Regions from separate parts of the Homo sapiens genome. Here region 2 is linked to region 1. Evidence: promoter capture Hi-C in 16 types of primary human blood cells and fetal thymus (Javierre and others, 2016). All regions are on one chromosome and are shown on one strand. Each heading gives the region's core, a stretch centred on a gene start or on the middle of the fragment in contact. The rest is flanking DNA. Distances are from core to core; before and after follow the strand shown.

The links. The method cuts DNA at HindIII sites, captures the fragments that hold promoters and counts their contacts. A CHiCAGO score of 5 or more calls a contact.
Region 2: a fragment that was not itself captured here is called in contact with the fragment with the promoter of ATG9B in region 1 in 1 of 17 cell types (non-activated CD4 T cells); the score reaches 5.2 in non-activated CD4 T cells.

Annotation. Positions count from the first base shown.
Region 1 is chr7:151,020,947-151,025,817 of GRCh38, forward strand. ATG9B (autophagy related 9B) reads right to left here and starts at 3,548. Exons shown (of 14, transcript NM_001317056.2): 1 at 2,928-3,548; 2 at 2,741-2,784; 3 at 2,499-2,563; 4 at 2,099-2,260; 5 at 242-383. The coding sequence starts at 3,477. It overlaps LOC124901777 (a long non-coding RNA gene), which reads right to left. Exons shown (of 3, transcript XR_007060593.1): 3 at 4,049-4,087. RefSeq lists an enhancer at 4,459-4,871. The HindIII fragment of the contact is 8,592 bases long and covers 1,991-4,871 here.
Region 2 is chr7:150,438,192-150,442,600 of GRCh38, forward strand. LINC00996 (long intergenic non-protein coding RNA 996) reads left to right here. Exons shown (of 4, transcript NR_034033.1): 2 at 4,358-4,409. Among named protein-coding and RNA genes, the nearest start is that of LINC00996, 6.7 kb to the left of the region's middle. The HindIII fragment of the contact is 7,363 bases long and covers 1-4,409 here.

The DNA of each region.
Region 1 (4,871 bases), core at 2,298-4,797:
ATATGTCATCTTATATGAGCCATCTAAATAAACTAAACTCCCTTAGGGTAAGGGCCATGCTCTCTAGGTGGTGGTAGCCCCCTCCTGACATTATTCTGGGCCTAGGGCAGGTGTCAATAAGACCTCGCTCTTTCTGCCCTCTTTCCAGTTGGCCCTTCCACCTGTACAGTCCCACTTCTTCCCCTCTCCTCTGCCCACCCTCTCACGGCACCCTCTGCACAGACACAGCCACCCAGCTCACCGGGGGGATGTGCAGGGCCTCCCTGTAAAACACCTGGATGTCCCAGTAGCTGAAGAGGTTGCAGACTGAGCGAAGCAGTTGGACCAGCCAGAAGCCGGCAGCCAGGACCAGGAGGAGGACCAGCAGCGGGCTGGAGCGGATCCTGTATGGGGTTGGGCGGGCAGTGGGGGAGAAAGGTGGGCGCCTGAGAAAGAGGCAGACCAGACTTCGGGAGTGAGGAAAAACCATCATGAGGAGGGGGATCTAGCTAGACCAGCAGCTCTCAAGGTAGAGCCCGGGGCAGGGGGTGGGTGCTGAAGTGGCCTTCACAAATGTGCAAAGTCAAACTTTTTCCAAATAATACTAATGCTTTCTGATGTTTTCATTCTTGTACTCTGAGAGTACAGTGGAGTTTTCCAGAGGCTACAAGACACGTGAACATGTCACATCACACTGACAGCTGATGAAATGTGTGCTTGTACACTCTTTTTTTTTTTTTTTGAGATGGAGTCTTGCTGTGTCGCCCAGGCTGGAGTGCAGTGGCGCAATCTTGGCTCACTGCAACCTCCACCTCCCGGGTTCAAATGATTCTCCTGTCTCAGCCTCCAGGGTAGCTGGGACTACAGGCGCCCGCCACCACACCTGGCTAATTTTTGTATATTTTAGTAGAGACAGGGTTTCACCATGTTGGCCAGAATGGTTTTGATCTCCTGACCTTGTGATCCGCCCGCCTCGGCCTCCCAAAGTGCTGAGATTACAGGTGTGAGCCACCACGCCCAGCCGCACTCTTACATTTTAAAGTTGTTCTCAGCTACAATTTCCTTCTTTTTTTTTTTTCCTTTTTATTGAAACAAGGTCTCTCTCTGTTACCCAGGCTGTAGTGCAGCAGTAGAAACATAGCTCCTATCTCCCTGCCAAATAACGGCCCAGGTCTGGAACAGTTATTTGGTTGGTTGGCAAAGAGAACATTGCAATCCATGCTTCAGGGAGGAAGGTTGTGAAGGCAACAATGAAAATGAATCGTCTGCTGGGAGGGAGGAGGGTGTAGGGATGCTGCAGTGATCAGAGACAGTCACTGTCTTAGCCTCCTGACTAGGCTTAGCTAGGACTGCAGGTACGCACCACCAAGCCCAGCTAATTTTTATTTTTTATAGAGATGTGGTCTCACTTTGTTGCTCAGGCTGATCTCAAACTTCTGGCTTCAAGCAATCCTCCTGCCTCAGCCTCCCAAAGTGCTGGGATTACAGGTGTGAACCACTATGCCCGGCCTAATTTTAATTTTTTATAAGGTAAAATGTGGATAGATACGACTCCCATAAACAAAAGCTTTTCAGGATTCTCAACCAATTTTAAGTGTATTAAGATACACTTAATGCACTGTAATTAAGATACACTTAAAAGGCCGGGCACAGTGGCTCACACCTGTAATCCCAGCACTTTGGGAGGCCAAAGTGGGTGGATCACCTGAGGCCAGGAGTTCCAGACCAGCCTGGCCAACATGGTGAAACCCTGTCTCTACTAAAAATACACGTGGTGGTGCACGCCTATAATCCCAGCTACTGGGGAGGCTGAGGCAGGAGAATTGCTTGAACCTGGGAGGTGGAGGTTGCAGTGAGCCAAGACCTCACCATTGCACTCCAGCCTGAGCAACAAGAGTGAAACTCTGTCTTAAAAAAAAAAAAAGATATACTTAATACACTTTAAGTACAACTTAATACACTTAAGTACAACTTAAAGTATATTAAGTGTATTTTTGGTCCTAAGACCAAAAGCTTTGAGAACTGCTGATCTAGATGACGGGACAAAGTGGGGCTCCCGTCTACTCCTCTACCCACTGCCCATGCTTCACCCCCAGGGCCCCACCAGGTTGTCACTAACCTCTCAGCACACTGGGCTGAGGGTAGGATGGCATCTGACAGGGTCACTTTGCTGTGGAACGGCCCAGGTCTGGTATGGTTACTTGGTTGGTTGGCAAAGAGAACATTGTAATCCACGCATCGAAGGAGGAAGGTTGTGAAGGTGACAATGAAAATAAATTGTCTGCCGGGAGGAAGGGGGGGTGCCGGGATGCTGCAGTGATCAGGGACAGCCAGGTGGGCTCCTGCCCCAGCCCCCAGAGCAGCCCATGGTTATCCTCCCTGACCCTGCCCCTGCTGAGCCCTTGGGCTGCTCGGGAAAGCATGGGATGGAAGCAGCTGGCACAATTAAGGAAGCAAAATGACAGAAGGAAGCCATGGGCCCAGGGGACCGAGTTCCGGGCCCGGGCTAAGCGTCTCACCCCAGCTGGAAGACATCCTCCAGCAAGATGCAGGCAAAGCCATTCCGCTGGTGGTAGCTGTAGATGTGGCTGCGTGTCAAGGAACAAGCCTGAGGCACGGGGGGCCTCTCCTGAGGACACCTCCCCTCAGCCCCAACAAGTCTCCCACCCATGACGCCCTCACGGAGTCTCCCTGCCAAGAACAGTGCCAGCTCCAAGAGGACCTTCCCATGCCACCTCTGCAGGCCTAGCGCAAAGGATATCTTGGTGAAGAAACTGTCCAGGTTCTGGATGTGATGCCAGGAGCCTGGGCACAGAGGGGAGAGTGTCAGCCCCTGGCATGTGATCAATTCTCCACGTTCTCAACCCGCTGCCAGAGGCCCAGCCTGGGATAAGTACTGGAGCTCCCAGGCACCACTAACCCTCTCCCACCCACACCCACACACATACCTCGGAGCCCTTCAGGGACATGAAGCAGGGGTTGCTGCTCCTCCCCGTGGATGGGTGAGTCTTGGGACCCCTCAGGGTCACAGTCCTCCAGCCGCTCATAATCCTGTTCAGGGATCAAAGGGCCTACCCGCAGCCCAGGAGAGTCCTGGGGGCACTGCTGTGAGGGAGTGGGGGTTGCCGGGGCCAGGGGTGGGGTGGAGTGGGATCCCCAGGAGGGAGATGCAGAGGCAGGTGTCATTGCAGGTTGAGCCTGTGTTGGGGGGGTGGCTGGGATAGGGAGAGCACTGTGGCAAGACTGAGAAGCCCCTGTCCCCTGTAGCACTGAGCAAGGGGGCCCTGCGGTGGGAGGGGAAAATGAGGAGGGGGAGCTTCTTGTATGAGGGGCAGGGGACAGAGAGAAGATGGAGATCCTCCCTCCCCCAGGTCCCCGGCATGAAGGAGGAGGAGGAGGTGGCAGTGGCATGGGGAGGAGGGGCACCGATCCGGGCCCCAGATCTCCCCACCGCCCCAGCCGCCTTCTTCTCCCCCCCCAGCCCATTCGGCTCACCATCAGGCCACGGCTTCTCCAGAAAGGTTGGAAGGATGGGAGCTGTTGTTGCTTCCACAAAGGTCTGTGACACTGAGCTGGGACTTCAACAGGAACAATGACAACAACATTACTAGGTGACTCAGCCTAGGCAGGCCTCAGGCGTCCCAGCTCTCAGTCACCTGTCTGATCACTCACACCCCTTCCAGGGCAACCTGAGGCCAAATCCCTCAGGGCCTGAGAGGGGCATCAGTTTAAGAGGAGGGGCCAAAGAGCACATTGAGATGAGAAGATTCCTATTATCTCCATCTTCAGACCTTGAATGAATGAAAGATAAAAAGAACAGCAGCCAAAATGACAAAAGCAAAAAGCAAAATCGTGTTAGAGCCAGGTGTGGTGATGTGTGCTTGTGTTCCTAGCTACTCAAGAGACTGAGGTGGGAGGATGGCTTGGTGCAGGTTACACTGGAACAGTATAGGTTACAGTGAGCTAGATCCTGCCCCCTGCCACCCCCCCCAAAAACATCCTATTAAAGGATTGTAGCAGGGCGCAGTACCTCACACTTGTAATCAATCTCAGCACTTTGGGAAGCCGAGGAAAGAGGATTGCTTGAGGCCAGGAGTTCAAGACCAGCCTGGGGAACAGAATGAGAAGACTCCATCTCTACAACAAATCTTAGGACCAAGATGTTAACTATTTCATTTCTTAAGAGTGTACCTCCCCCACTTCCCTCCACACACACACTACAGTGATCAACAGAGAAATGTTTTGTGACCAAAACAGAAAAGAAGAAGTAAAGGGGCCAGGCATGTTGGCTTACACCCGTAATCCCAGGACTTTGGGAGGCCCGGGCGAGAGGATCACTTGAGGCCAGGAGTTCGAGACCAGCCTGAGCAACTTAGGGAAACACCATCTCTACAAAATCTAAAAAACAAACAAAATAATTTTTTTTCTTTTTGAGGCAGTCTCACTCTGTCACCCAGACTGGAGTATAGTGGCACAATCTCGGCTCACTGCAACCTCCGCCTCCCAAGTTCAAGTGATTCTTCTGCTTCAGCCTCCTGAGTAGCTGAGACTACAGGTGTGTGCCACCACACCCAGCTAATTTTTTGTATTTTTAGTAGAGATGGGGTTTCACCATGTTGGCCAGGCTGGTCTTGAACTCCTGACCTCGTGATCCACCCGCCTTGGCCTCCCAAAGTGCTGGCATTACAGGCGTGAGCCACTGCGCCTGGTCAAAAATAAATTTTTTAAAAAGAATAAGAAAAGGTTGCATGTTTTATTGGTCTGAGGTGCTAAGGAAGAGAAGAGGGGAGGCTGACTTTGCAGCCAAGTTGGGGAAAACTAAGAAGAGGAGGTGAAGAAAGGAAAGGCAGCTATCTTGGATTTGAGAGTTGGTTTGGAGAACTTAGAGTAGA
Region 2 (4,409 bases), core at 1,910-4,409, 580 kb before region 1:
TATCGCTCTCTACTATTGTAAAGTTGAACAATTGTAAGTCAAACAATCCTAAGTGTAAGTCAGGGACTATTTGTACATAGAACATAGAAAAATGGATGTGGTGTCTCACACCTATAATCCCAGCACTCTGGGAGGCCGAGGTGGGAGGACTGCTTGAGCTCAGGAGTTTGAGATCAGCCTGGGCAACATGGCGAAAGCCCATCTTACAAAAAAATACAAAAATTAGCTGAGCATGGTGGTGCAAGCCTGTAGTCACAGCTACCTGGGAGATTGAGTTGAGAGGATCACCTGAGCCCAAGAGGCCGAGGCTGCAAAGATCCGAGATTGCACTACTGCACACTAGCCTGGGCAACAGAATGAGATCTTGTCTCAAAAATAAAAAAGAAGAACATATAAAAATGTGGAACATAAAATATAGGATATAAGAAACATACAGCATATCAAATGCCTATAACTTAATAAGGAATGTGCAGACAACCCAATAAAAAATTGGGCAAAGGATATGAACAGGCAAGACACAGAAGACATTTAAACATTTAAAGCATGCTCAGCCTCACAGCTAATCAAACAATCTGATACCATCTCACACCCACCAGTCTGGCAATAAAGTCTGATAATACCAGCTATTGGTGAAGATGTAGAGAAATGATAACTATCAACCACTGTCAAACACAAATGTAAGTTTTTATAAACAGGACAGCAATGTGATGATATCCAGTGAATTTAAAAATGTGCATTCCCTAGGACAAAGAAATTTAACTTTACAGTATAGACTCCAGGGGAGCTCTCATCTGTATTTGTGTTAATTGTAACCTTATTTGTAGTAGGAAAAATTGGAAGCAGCCTGTAGGTTCATCACTGGAAGGGTATATAAAGGGCTACAGCTGTATCTGAAATATTTTCACTTAAAAAATCTGGAGCAAAAATGACAAACTGCTTAGACTTAATGAGCTGGGTGTTGAGTACACGGGTTATTTTCCATGCTTGTTCACACACTGTGCAATACCTTGTTTTAAAAAGATGATATTGTATTAGGAACCCAGGAATACCCTGATCCAGCTCCAGACCACAGTCAATCCTCCTTATTTTGTCTAGGCTGACCCTGGGGCTGGAATCTGTGGCACCTTCAAAAAGAGTGATGTGGAGGGTAGAAAGAAGCGTCACCTGTGGCAGGAATTGCAGAGCAGTAAGGAAAATGGGCATAGGGAAATCTCATTTGTTTTATGACAGTTTTGAGATATAATTCACATGCCACAAAATTCAACCATTTAAAGTGTACAAGTCAATAGTTTTTAGTATATTCACAGATATGTGCAACCCAGCACCACAGTCAGCCTCATAACATTTCTATCGCCTTGTATAGAAACTCTGTACTTTAAGGATCACTCTTCATCCTCCCATCTCCTCCCAGCTCTAAGCAACCACTCATCTACTTTCTGTCTCTATAGGTTTGACTAATCTGAACATTTGAAGTAAGTGGAATCATATAATAGGTGGCCTAATGTTTTCAAGGTTCATCCATGTTGGATCATGTATCAGTACTTCATCCCTTTTTAGGGCCAAATAATATCCTCTTGTATGGAAATACTGCATTTTGTTTATCCATTTATCAGTTGACGTTGAGTTGTTTCCACTTTTTGCCTATTATAAATAATGCTGCTACAAACATGCATGTACTACTTTTTGAGTAGACATGTTTTCCTTTTTTGGGTAAATACGTAGGAATGTCATTGCTGGATCATTTGATTATGTTTCACCATATGAGGAACTGCTAGACTGTTTTCCAAAGTGACTGCACAATTTTACATTCCCACCAGTGATGTATGAAGATTCCAATTTCTCCACATTCTCACCTCTTCCACATTCTCCTGATCCTCACTCTCTTGTTATCTGACTTTCTGATTACAGCCATGCTTGTGGGTATGAAGTCGTGTTCTCTTTTGGTTTTGATTTGCATTTCCTTTATGACTAATGATGTTACACATCTTTTCATGTGCTTCTTGGCTATTTGTGGGACTTCTTTGGAGAAATGACTATCCATATCATTTTCCCATTTTAAAAAATTGGGTAATTTGTCTTTTTATTATTGAGTCATAACATTTCTTTATATAGTCTAGAGACAAGTTCCTTATGAGATATGTGATTTTCAAATGTTTCTCTCATTCCGTGGTTTGTATTTTCACTTTTTAAGTAGTGTCTTTTGAAGTACAAAAGTTCTGATTTTGATAAAGCCCAATTTATCTATTTTTTCTTTTGTTGCTCATGCTTTTGATGTCATATCTAAGAACCTATTGTCAAATCCAATCATGAAGATTTGCGACCATGTTTTCTAAAAGTTGTATAGTTTTAGCTCTTATGTTTAGGTCTTTGATCCATCTTGAGTTAATTTTTGTATATGGTGTGAAGCGAGAGTTCAATGTCATTATTTTATATGTGGCTATCCCATTATCTCAGTATGATTTGTTGAAAAGACTACGTTTTTCCCCCATTGAATGGTTTTGGCACTCTTGTTGAAAATTAATTGACCATATATGTGAGGGTTTATTTCTGGACTCTTAGCTCTATTTTATTGATTTATATGTTTATCCCTATCTCAGTATCACACTATCTAGATTACTGCTGCTTTGTAGTAAGTTTGGCAATCAGGAAGTATGAATCCTCCAGTTTGTTCTTTTGTCAGAGTATTTTGGCTAGTCTAGGTCCCTTGAATTTTTATATGAATTTTAGAATTAGCTTGTTAACTTCTACAAAGAAGCCACCTGGGATTCTAATAGGGCTTTCTTGAATGTATAGATCAATTTTGGGAGTATTGCCATATTAACAATCTTAAGTTTTTTGATCCGTGAATATGGTATATTTTTCATTTATGTAGACCTTTAATTCTTTCAACTACGTTTTATAGTCTTTAAAGTATAAATTTTAAACTTTTATTAAATTTATTTCTCTTGTTCTTTTTGGTGCTATTATAAATGGAATTGTTTCAACTTTATTTTCAGATTGTGCATTGTTTTGAGATATAATTGGTTCTGTATATTGACCTTGTATCCTGTAAGCTCGATGAAATTACTTATTAATTCTAATAGTTTTATTTAGTAGATTCCTTAGGATTTTCTGTGTAGAAAATTTCTATGTAATTTGTGAATAGAGATAGTTTTATTTCTTCCTTTCAAATATGGATGCCTTTTTTGTGTGTGTGCTTAATTGCCCTGGCTAGAATGTCTACTTAATGCTGAATAGATGTGGCAAGAACAGCCATCCTTGGCTTGTGTCTAATCTTGAGGGAAAGCATCCAATCTTTGACTATTAAGTATAATTTTATCTGTGTGTTTTTTGGTAGATTCCTTGTATCAAATTGAGGAAGTCTCCTTCCATTCCTAGTTTATGAAGTGTTTCATTACAAAAAAGCATTAGATTTTGTCAAATATTTGTTCTGTATCTGTTGAGATGGTTATGTGTGTGTATGTGTGTGTTCTTAAAAGTCTTTTGATATGGTGTAGTACATTAATTGATTTTCAGATGTTAAACCAACCTTGCATTCCTGGGATAATTCCCACTTTTTCATGGTGTATAATTCTTTTTCTATATTTATGGATTTGGTATGCTAGCATTTTGTTGAGGACTTTTGCATCCACACATCTATATTCATAAGAGATATTTGTTGTTCCCTTCCCTTCCCCTTCTCCTTCTCCTTCTGCTTCCTCTTCCCCTTCCCCTTACCCCTTGCAGGTCTTCAGGAGTGCCTTTCACCAGTCCTTAGTCCTGGCCCACTGGCCTCTTGGGTCTGCCTTTCTTTTCAGCTTCCACAGGGAGCTTGGGGTGTGGGAATCTGCGCTGAGGCCCCTGTGCTGCCTGCCCAGGATCCCTGGGGAGCCACTTCTCTCAGGGGTCTCCCAGCACCTTTGCTGTGCTGCTGGGAAGTGGGATGCGGCCCCTTCTCTCAGGGCTTCCTGGCCTGCCTCTCACTTGCCTTTCTCATTCCATCAAGTATGTGGGTAGCAGGAAGGGGAAACTCTGGGGCCTGAGGGTACCCCCTACCTTCATCTTCCTGGCCATGTGTGTTCTCACATCCCCTCCTCTGGCCATCTCTCTGAGGCTGATGCTGTTGGAAACAAGGTCAAGGCGCCTCTCAGGCCTTTTCTTCTTCTGATTCTATCCCTCTCTTCCGGCAAAGAGCAGGAGCCTGCTAGTGCCTACATGGGAGGGCAGGGCCACCAGGGCGACAGTGTTGTGTGTGCGGGTGGAAGCACAGGGAGCTATCTATTGTGATGAACCCCAGCAAGGAGGGAGGAATGTGGCTACGAGCGATGCCTGGATTGCTGCTTGATTTTTCTAACACTTTCCTACTTCTCGCCTGCAGATGAAGCAGCAGCAGAAAAAATGGAAGCCATTTTGGTTAACGGGTCACATCT